Linked DNA regions of Homo sapiens: region 2 is linked to region 1. The links are contacts of gene promoters, found by promoter capture Hi-C in blood cells and fetal thymus (Javierre and others, 2016). All regions are on one chromosome and are shown on one strand. Each heading gives the region's core, a stretch centred on a gene start or on the middle of the fragment in contact. The rest is flanking DNA. Distances are from core to core; before and after follow the strand shown.

Region 1 (5,084 bases), core at 2,308-4,807:
CACCGTCAGATTTAGCGAATGCTGGAGGTCTCTGGATTTCCGCAGGGGGAAATGGTGGTGGTCCAAGCCTAGACCCTGGTCCGCTTCTCCATGAAGCCCACTCCGTCAGTGACGCCATGCAGCCTCTCAGCTTTAAACACCATCAGGGAGCTGGAGACTCGTGGACACCACCAGCCCTAGCCTCTCCCTGAGCTCCAAACTGTCAAATCCCCTGAAACCATGACGTCTCCTGGGGGCTTAACACATCAAGACTGAGCCCCCGTTCTCCCCAAGACCTGCTCCTCCCTCTCACTGGTTGGGACCCAAAACCTCAGACTCCCCGCTCCTCCTCTCTTCCTCTCACACCTCTTCCCGAGCCTGTCATCAATTCTGCTCACCAGCCTCCAAATCGTCTGGGACGCTGCTCTTCCCTCCGGCCCACCCGGCCACCTAGTCCCCGCCACTGTCGTCACCTGCTGCCTGCTTTGCTGCAGGCCCTCCTCCCTGGCCTCCCTGCTCCCTGCCTCCACCCCAAGTCGGTTTTCAACACAGCCTCAAGGGATCCTATCAAAGAAACCAGGCCTTTCCTACCCTGCCCTCGACAAACTTTTGCCACCAAACAGCCACCCGATAGTGAAACACTCTCAAGCTTGGAGCATGGGCCAAATGGGCTGAGGACTGTTTCCCGGTGAAGATCTAGTAAGCCTGAATAAAGCAGGAGAATAGGCACTTTGGGAGGCCAAGGCAGGTGGATCATTTGAGGCCAGGAGTTCAAGACCAGCCTGGCCAACATGGCAAAACCCCATCTCTACTAAAAATAGAAAAATTAGCCGGGCGTGGTGCGCATGCCTGTAGTCCAAGCTACTCAGGAAGCTGAGGATCACTTGAAACCAGGAGGCGGAGGTTGCAGTGAGCCAGGATCGTGCCACTGCACTCCAGCCTGGAAAACAGAGTGAGACTCTGTCTCAAAATAAACAAAACAAAACACCAGCAGCCATGAACAGAGTGAGGGAGAGAGCCGGGAAGGGGAGTCCAGGTCCAGAGGGGGCGGGGGCACAGGAGAGGGCAGTGAGGCTGGCGCTTTCAGTCCCTGGGAATCCTAAGGTTGGCACAGAGCGATGGGCAGAGTTTCTTTGGAGCCAAGGGCTGCATTTGACTTGTTTAAGGAGGGGACCTGACAATGGTGAAAACTTCACAGGCAGCCGCGGGAAACAAAGGGACACGCAGCCTGCTGGGGCAGGGGAGGGGTGGCCGGGGACCATCTGCTGCAGAGGAGGGGAGTGGTGGGGCTGCTGCCACCTCTCCCCCCAACAAGGGGACCATAGGGAGGAGAAAGGCTCGCCTTGAGCACAAAACCCGCCTCCCCCAGCCCACCCCCTCAGCCCAGGACAAAGGCCGGCACACGAGTCCCGGCCCCTGCCGCAAGGCCCACCTGCCACCCGACCGCCCTTAACCAGCCAGGCGGGCGCCCAGCGCTGCAGTTAACCAGCTCAGGCCCGGTCCAGACACTCCTGCCCCGTGCAGATGGGGAAACTGCGGGCCGAAAGGGGAGGGCCTTGGCTGAGGTCACAGAGAGAAGTGAGCCAAAGGGTGAGAGACGTGGGGTAGCGACTCCTGTAGCCCAGTGACCCAGTCCTCACAGGGTTCCCAAGTCTCAGCAGGGGAGAAAAGCACCCAACCAGGAGCAAGGTTCTAGGTCCCACTGGGCTCTGTCCCCTCAGGCCTTCTGCGTGACACCACGCCAGCCAGCACTTCCTCTCTCTGGCCTCAGTTTCCTCATCCGGGGCAAGGGCACCACCGCGGTGATGGAGATAAGACAGGAAAGGGCCGTGGGCCACGTGAGGCCACGCTCCCGGGTACACAGACGCATAAACAGGAAGGCCTGCGGGAGGGCCCGCCTTGGCTGCTTCCGCAGGAAGAACCAGGATCTCCCCAAGATGAGAAGCCGTGTGGGGCCCAGAGAAGAGCTGAGGTGCTGGGGGCCAGCTGGGGAAGAGTTAATCCCAAGTACGAGGGCAGAAATCAGGGCAGGGTGCCCCTCCCCAGGAGGGCCTGGCCTCTGCCAGCCATCCTCTCCCCCTCCTTTTGGTCTTCCAGGAGGTCTCGACTATCTCCAAAGACTCAGTCACTTCCTCCCACTGAGCCAGCCGCCAAAGAGGGGACCGATGTGTGTGTGTGTGTGTGTGTGTGTGTACCCATTCTCCACCTCCCCCATCAACGGTCCCTAACACCGACATCACTAACTTTGCTTAAGGAAGATACTGGATGCGAGGAGGGAAAGGGCTGGAAGGGACTTGGCTCGCCGGAGCCGCACAGCCATGTGACAGACATGCCTCTTGTCACACACATCTAGCACACTCCAGCTCCGTGCGTGTGAGCACACACACACACACACACACAATCCCACGTGCCAGGCAGGCCTCCCCAACCTCCGGCCCACCACTGCCTCAGCCGCCACCCTCGTGGCATGCGCTCTCCTTCCCTCCCTCGGAAGCAGTCCGCAGGAAGCCAACACAGGAGGCCAGACATGGCGGCCTCGGCACACCCGGGGCAGCAGAGACACAGCGGCAGGGGCTATCGGGAAGGCCGAAGGGATGCCTCCCCCAAGAACAGACCCCACCATTCTCCTCCCGTCCTCCACCCTCAGAGCCCGGGCAGGACAGCACCTAGGGCCTGGGTGGGACAGCCTGGCCTGGGCACGGGTCTGGGTCAGGACCTCTTGGAGGCCTCCACCCCAGCTGCCCAACACCCACCATTACCCCTGATGCCAGGCTGGGCCTGGGTGGCTAGGAGCGAAGCCCCCACGGGAGCGGCTAGGAATAGAAGAACCCCCAGGAGGGACCCGGGAGCCTGGAGCAGGGGCCCAGCCTGGCCCCCAAAAGTGGTGGAGCGGTAGGACCTGGGTGCACCTGGAGTCAGGACCAGTACAGGGCACGGGCAGGGCCGCAGGCAGCCCCTAAAGCCCGGAAGAAGGAGAGAGGAAGAGGATCCCTGATTAGGCAGGTATTGAGCAGCTTCTCCCATGAGGCAGTCAGGGACCCCAGCCCAGTAGAAAGGCCTCTGAGAACCCCTTAGGCCAGGGGCCACCCCCAGGGCCCAATGTCACCCACTTGTCACCTGTTCCCTGGTCCTGGAAACCCACGTGTCAAGCAGCAGCTCCAGGCGCAAGCGGTGGAAAGCCCGGGTCGTCTTCACTGCAATGAAGACATCGTGTAGCTGTAGCTTAGGGGGCCCCGGGTTCGGCTGGCTCAGCTCGGGGGTCCCTTGTACCCGCTGCGGGGACAGGTTCAAGTGGTACCGCAGACACAGGAGCCCCATGCACAGGAGGGTGAGGAGGGCTCCAGCCAGGCCCCGCGGGAGCCGGCACTGCATTGGTTGGCCCTGGGACCCCAGACAGCTCAGCCCCCAAATCCCAACCAGACAGGGAGGGGAAGCTGGTCAGGCAGGGGCTCCAGCAGAGGCAAAAGTCTGGCAGGCATCAGGGGCTGGCAAGGAGGGAAGAGGTAGGAGCTGAGGCTCTGGACCCAGAGGCTGAGCCATGGCAGCACGATCTCGACCGCCGCCAGTCCTCCACCTGCTCCCGCTGTCCGGCCTGCCGCAGCCTCCGGGACCGCCTGGCCCCGCCCCGCTTAGCCCGAGGGGCGGGGCCAGACGAAGGGAACCCCAGACAGAGGCGGCTGAAAGGAGGCACCAGCAGAAAGGGCAGCCCCGGCTCTGCCAGCTGCTGCGGTGGGAGGAAGTCACAACAAACCCTCCGTGCCCGGTGGAAGGGAGTGTCCTCCAGCACCGTCCACTCCCCCAGAGAGCTGTCAGCTCGGCCCATTCAACACCCATTACTTTGGTGTCCTGCTTCACCCAGCCCCCAGCTTTTGCTCACAGGTTTCCTCCGGGATGCTCTCCCATATTCCACCAGCCTCACCCACATTCCCTCCACTAGGCTGAGTTCTATCTGGACTTCAAAGCTTAAGGGTTCCCTCCTCCAGGAAGCCTTCCGTGATAACCTCTTAACCTCTGGGGCTCCCACAGTTGTTCGCTCAGTTCCTGAGGTCTTCACAACAGCACTGGGACTGTCGTTCCCAGTTTATAGCTGAAGACATAAGGCACAAAGGCACAGAATGAGCAAAAACGATCCAGCAACTCAGCCGCAGAGCTGGCAGAACCCAGGTCTCTGTTCCTCATCTAGTTCACAGGAGGTCCCCTGAGGGCACCTGTCCAGCTGTGCCCCAGCCCATACCCGACCTCACTCCGCAGTCTCTGGAGCTGCCTCTCTCCCAGCACCTGACCAGTGGACAGACAGAGGGCCTTCTCCAGCCACCACCTCCATCTTGTTTCGCACAAGCTCACTCACACCTCCTCCCTCCTCCACTCAGAGCCTGCACTGGCTCCCATTTTCTTCAGAACAAAAGCCAAAACGCACACAGCAGCCCACAAGGCCCTGCGTGAGCTGGCTCCCAAGTTACTCCCACCCCATCTCCTGCTACTCACCCTGCTCCACTCCAGAACCTGGGACCCTCGCTGGCCCAGGCACCTGGCCGCCACAGGACCTTGGCACTTGCTGTTCCCACCTGGGCCCCTCCCTAGAGACCTGCACGTCTCACTCCCCCACTCCCTTCTGGTCTTTACACAAAGGTCACCGTCTCTGTGAGGCCTTCCCTGACCACGTTATTAACATTGCAACCCCTCGCCGCCTCCTTCCCAGCCCCCCAGGCCTGTCCCTCTCAAGCCACTTCACTGTTTTCTTCATCACACTTTTCATCTTCCAACATTCTGTATGTTTAACTAAGTTTCTGTCCTCCTCATGAGAATATCAGGGCAGGATTTATTTTTTGATCACTGAGTCCCTAATCCCCAGTGCCTAGAACAGTGACCGGCAGACAAGAACTCAATCAATGTTAATTCAACACAACAAAGTACCAGGTGGCTGGCAAAGGGAAGTGGCCCTGCCGGGCTCAACCCTGCATGAGGACAGCTGGGGGAGAGGAAGGGAAAACCAACCCTTTGAATGACCTTCTCATGGGCCAGCCCCCAGCCAGGCCCCTTCACAGGCCATATTCTCAGAATGGTGATGATGCCAGCCTTGGTGATGATCCCAGACTCTGTACCCC
Region 2 (5,628 bases), core at 1,429-3,928, 370 kb before region 1:
GACCCTGTCTCTAAAAAAATAAAAATGTAAGGAGGTTAGGAAGCAGCAAGGAAGATTTTTTTTCTAGAGCCTTCAGGGAGAGAATGAGCCTGCCAACACTTTGATTTTAGATAAGAATAAAAAGAGAGGGGGGCCGGGCGCAGTGGCTCACGCCTGTAATCCCAGCACTTTGGGAGGCCGAGGCAGGTGGATTACGAGGTCAGGAGATCAAGACCATCCTGGCTAACACAGTGAAACTCCATCTCTACTAAACATACAAAAAAATTAGCTGGGAGTGGTGGCAGGCGCCTATAGTCCCAGCTACTCGGGAGGCTGAGGCAGGAGAATCTCTTGAACCTAGGAGGCAGAGGTTGCAGTGAGCCGAAATCCACCACTGCACTCCAGCCTAGACGACAGAGCAAGACTCCATCTCAAAAAAAGAAAAAAGAAAGAACAAGAACAAAGATGTAAAAGAAATAGAACAAGTCTCAGTTGCTGCCCTTGAAGAAAGCTGCCAAGCCTAGGGAAACAGACAGTGGGACAGAAGCTTGGCAGGCACTTGGCCCCGCCCACCACGTGACAGCACCCGGTGGAGGACAGGACCCTCAGCAGTACATGGAGATGCTTCTTATGTGCTTGGAGGAATAAGAATCCACCAGAATGGCCTGTCACCAACAGGTGTGGGACCTCTCAGGAGTCCCCATCTCTGTGGCTTGTCTTCCTCCATCTGTACAGGGATTTAAGGATCCTAAGGCTTAGAATAATCTATGGCTTACAATACAGCTAACCAGACCCAGGATAGGCCTGATCTCCAATAAGAAAAATGGTCACTTCACCCATCTGAGGTGAGAAAGTGGAGTTTCAGAGCAGTGATTTGCTTGATGTCACACAGTCAGGAAGTGCTAGGAGCTGGATTCAAACCCAGGACCCTCTGGCTTCAGAGCCAGTTGTCCTTCCCAGTGACACCTTCTCCTGTCTCTGTGTTCCTTCCCACTGCCCACACCACCACTCCTGAGCCCTCGGCCTCTGTCTCAGCCCTGGGTCCTGGCCTCTGGCCTCTGTCTGAAGATGCTGCTAGGACAAACTCACCACCAGGCCCTGGCATGCCCAGTCGCTTCTTTCCCAGATGGGCAGTCGGGGTACAGATGCTGATCAGGGGTTTGGGGTTTGGGAGGGGCTGCTTCAAGCCACCTTGGGGACACAGAATGGAAACTCTGCATGCATCACTCAGCCTGACCTTCTCCTCCACTGTGGGATTGTAGCAGGTGGGGCTCCCAGAACAGATAGGGGGACTATATTAGTCCATTTTCATGCTGTTATGAAAAAATACCCAAGACTGGGTAATTTATAAAGAAAAAGAGGTTTAATGGCCTCACAGTTCCACATGGCTGCGGAGGCCTCAAAATCATGGCAGAAGGCAAAGGAGGAGTAAGGGCACGTCTTACATGGTGGCGGGCAAGAGTGTGTGCAGGGGAACTGTCCTTTACAAAACCATTAGAGCTCATGAGACTTATTCACTATCACAAGAACGGCATGGGAAAAACCTGCCCCCATGATTCAATTACCTCCCACCTGGTCCTTCCCACTACACGTGGGGATGATGGAAGCTACAATTTGAAATGAGATTTGGGTGGGGACACAGCCAAACCACATCAGGGAGCCAGACCCAGAGAGTGGGTGGAGACTACCCAAGGTTGCACAGCAATGCTGAGGCAGGGCTGGGACTGGAACCCAGGTGACCTGATTCCCAGCCTGTACTCTTCCCAGTATACTGTCCAAAAATGAATTCTAAAAACTAAAACAAAAGAACAATATTACTTATTTCCATATACATAAGGCTTTAGGCAGAGAGTCAACAAAAATTTCCAAAGGACACAAAATTGCAATTTTCAACTTTTTTTTTTTTTTTTTTTTTTTTGCCTCAAAACATTGCAGGCAGAGCCTCCTCTAAAGACAGTCCGGTTTGTGGGACTAGCTCTTGCCCTTGAAGGGGGCCCTGTCCAAGGTCACAGACACCTAAATTTCCCCAAGGAGGCTCTTTCCTGCTGCCCTTTCATGGGAAGACCCCAGCACTCACTCAGGTTCCCCGAGTACCTCTATTCTCCTTGGTCATCTGTGTCAGACAGCTGTTGACTTGGTGGGCCCGAGAGAGCTCCTGATACCAGTCGGCTCTGTTGCCTCTTCCCTCCACGTTGGTTTCTCAGAACCTTGGTCATTCCAGGTTTTCAAAGCCTCTAAGTAACTTCCCCTCCCACCTTTCCTTCCTTCCTTTCTCCTTTTCCTTTTTCCCTCCTCCCCTTTGCCCATTTACCAACCTACACATCCATTCAACGAACAACCTGTGGCAGGTGCTGGGATTCAATAATGGATGGATCACGGAGGATCGAGGATCGTTAACTGGAGAGAGTTGCAGCTGAGCTCAGCAAGCAGGGGGTGGGGGCACGGAGCAGCCAGCACACCTGGGGTCAGGAAGAAGTGATCTTTACAATAAATCCCGCAGGATGCTCTTCCTTTCTCCCTCCCTCTCTACCGTGCAGACACATTTTGCTTGGCTTGCTTGTTTTCTGTTTTTAAAAGATGAGTGGCCAATATTTAAAAATAAGGACACTTTGCAGGAAAAACTGAATTTTCAGCTTCTCTTAAAAATGTAGAAGATCAGGCCTGCGCAGTGGCTCAGGCCTGTAATCCCAGCACTTTGGGAGGTGGAGGCGGGCGGATCACCTGAGGTCGGGAATTCAAGACCAGCCTGACCAACGTGGAGAAACCCCGTCTCTACTGAAAATACAAAATTCGCCAGGCGTGGTGGTGCGTGCCTGTAGTTTCAGCTACTCGGGAGGCTGAGGCAGGAGAATCGCTTGAACCCGGGAGGCTGAGGTTGCGGTGAGCTGAGATCACGCCATTGCACTCCAGCCTAGGCAACAAGAGTGAAACTCTGTCTTAAAAAAAAAAAAAAAAGTAGATGACCTAGCTGATCCCCAACATGGCAACAATCAGCGATGGCTGCCCTGGAGCAATTTCGGTTTGACACAGACCTCACCACTCCCTATTGTATCACACTGCATGGGTTAAAAAGAGTTACTAGAGTCAGGAGCCTGAGTTTGAGTCCTGGCTCCACCACTTATTTGGCCACATGCCCTTGAGCTACAAGGTATTTGATTTTACTGGGCCTTCATTTCCTCATATAGAAAATGAGACAGTAAGCCTAAGTGTTGTGAAGATTGACAGAACCTGTGTGAGGAACTTAGAACGGGGCCCGCATCTACTGGGTGTACACCATCAGCATTTCATCACTGCAGCTAATATCTACCCAAACCCCAGTCCCTGTCAGCATCTGAGTTTGGGATCCCAGCAGCAAAGGTTTCATTGTTAGTTTCATATTTGCATAAATTACAAGCAATAGAATTCTCTCGCCAACATGTACCGTTCCTGGCTGATTGCTCGGACTGACAGTGTAACGGGTGCTCTCCTACACCCACTGTTACGAGAATCACTGGACCGTTGGCCGGGGACGGCCAGCCACCCACCATCAAGCCCGTTCCAAGCAACCCGAGCTCTCTCAAACCGAAATGTCCAATTTGAACAGTCCAGTGCACATAGTAGAAGCTCAATAAATAGATTAGAATGAATGAGCAGTAGTTACTGGGCACAGGGTGGGCTATCTTTTTTTTTTTTCTTTTTTTTTTTTTGAGACAGAGTCTCACTCTGTTGTCCAGGCTGGAGTGCAGTGGCGCGATCTCAGCTCACTGCAGCCTCCGCCTCCTGGGTTCAAGTGATTCTCCTGTCTCAGCTTCCTGAGTAGATGGGGCTACAGGCGCAGGCCACCATGCCCAGCTAATTTTTTTGTATTTTTAGTAGAGATGGGGTTTCACCATGTTGGTCAGGCCGGTCTCAAACTCCTGACCTCAGGTGATCCACCCACCTTGGCCTCCCAAAGTGCTGGGATTACAGGAGTGAGCTACCGCACCCGGCCTTTGAAATTTCACTTCTTCACCCCATTTTAGATGAAGAGACTGAGGCTCAAAGGGGCCAAGTGGTACAGAATTGGGAGGGACAAAATGTCCTCGGCCCTGAGCTAGGCGGGTGGCAGCCAGCACGGCTGGATTTGAGAGGTAGGAAGAAGACCTCATAGGTTTCCTTCAGCATTTGTCACACCTCCTAGAATCTTGTCATCATAGATTTGGGCCTTATCTCAAACCATCATCCCCCAAGACCTACCCAGGTGCTTGAGGGAGATGAGCTGTCAGGATTAGGAGGTTGGAAAGGGCAGGGAGGTGGCAGGAGACACCAAGCCTGCAGGTGTCCAGCTCATCCCCTGCCCCAAACAGCCATCACCAACACAGCAACAGAGTATCCAAAAGGCCAGCCAGCAAGTCAGCAGCTTCCACATCTCTGGCCCCTGGCTGCCCTGGTCACAGCCCTGTCTCTGTCTGTCTCTCCCACGGCTAGCTCTTCTCTCCTAAGTACTTTACATTAACTTACTTCTTTTTTTGTAACAGGGCCTCACTCTGTTGCCCAGGCTGGAGTGCAGTGGCACGATCAATGCTCACTGCAGCCTCAATCTCCTATGCTCAAGGGATCTTCCCACCTCGGCCTCCCTAGTAGCTAGGACTACACGTATGTACCACCATGCCCGGCTAATTTTCTGTATATATTTTTTGTAGACACAGGGTCTCACCATGTTAGCCAGGCTGGTCTTGGACTCCTGGGCTCAAGGGATCCTCCCACCTGGACCTCCCTAAGTGCTGGATTACAGGTGCAAGCCACAGCACCCTGCCACATTCAATTATTTCTTTCATCCTCACAACAGTCCTGGTATTGTCCCCTTTTACAGATGAGAAAACTGAGGCACGGAGAAGCTTAGGTATTTGTCCAAAGTCACAGCTGATAGGCAGCAGGGCCAGTACTTAACCCAGGCTGCGGGGCTCCAGAGTGAGGGGGCCAGTACTTAACCCGGCTGCGGGGCTCCAGAGTGAGGGGGCCAGTACTTAACCCGGCTGCGGGGCTCCAGAGTTAAGGCTATAACCACTATGCCACACTGCCCCAAGGTGTCCACAAAGGCTGAAAGTGTAGAATGAAGGGGGCTTTGCTCGCTGCTGGATCCCCAACACCGTGACTTGCAGGTACTAGGCCCTCCTAAATGTCTGTTGAATGAATAAATGAATGAATGAACAATTCCTTCCTCTTCTAAGAACCATCCTCAAGCAGCTATCCAAAACTACCTGAACTCTGGCTCAGCCTCTCTTGCTAAAGCCCCGCACGGCATTCCACAATTCCTCCCCAGGTTAGAAGACTCCACCAGAGTGTTCACTGGCACCATTTCCTGATCAAGGCTTGTGCTCACAGGACCGGGTTGATTTTCTTCCACACCGAAGGAGGGCTGTGATCAGCTGGTCTACTTGTATGTGTCCTCCAGAGTCACTCCCTCCCAGACAAGGTTGGAGACTCTTTGTGGACAGAGCAGTAGCCGGCCTCCTCTCTGTGGCCAGTGCCCAGCATGAGGCCAGGTAAATAGAGGAATGGGAGATGAGACATTGTCTGCCAGCTCTGCTCCTCCCTCCGTCTGCATCCTGGCTTCCTGGAATCGTAGACTGGGCACTCCCCCCTCCACTACCCGACCTGCGTCTCTCACCACTCAGCGCTTCCTGCCTC

The links. The method cuts DNA at HindIII sites, captures the fragments that hold promoters and counts their contacts. A CHiCAGO score of 5 or more calls a contact.
Region 2: a fragment that was not itself captured here is called in contact with the fragment with the promoter of MFNG in region 1 in 1 of 17 cell types (non-activated CD4 T cells); the score reaches 5.6 in non-activated CD4 T cells.

Annotation. Positions count from the first base shown.
Region 1 is chr22:37,482,827-37,487,910 of GRCh38, forward strand. It overlaps MFNG (MFNG O-fucosylpeptide 3-beta-N-acetylglucosaminyltransferase), which reads right to left and starts at 3,558. Exons shown (of 8, transcript NM_002405.4): 1 at 3,097-3,558. The coding sequence starts at 3,351. RefSeq lists enhancers at 2,443-2,502, 2,903-2,952, 3,429-3,938, 3,939-4,450, 4,451-4,960 and 2 more and a silencer at 3,523-3,652. The HindIII fragment of the contact is 3,313 bases long and covers 627-3,939 here.
Region 2 is chr22:37,116,721-37,122,348 of GRCh38, forward strand. No RefSeq gene overlaps it. Among named protein-coding and RNA genes, the nearest start is that of TMPRSS6, 9.8 kb to the left of the region's middle. The HindIII fragment of the contact is 4,309 bases long and covers 525-4,833 here.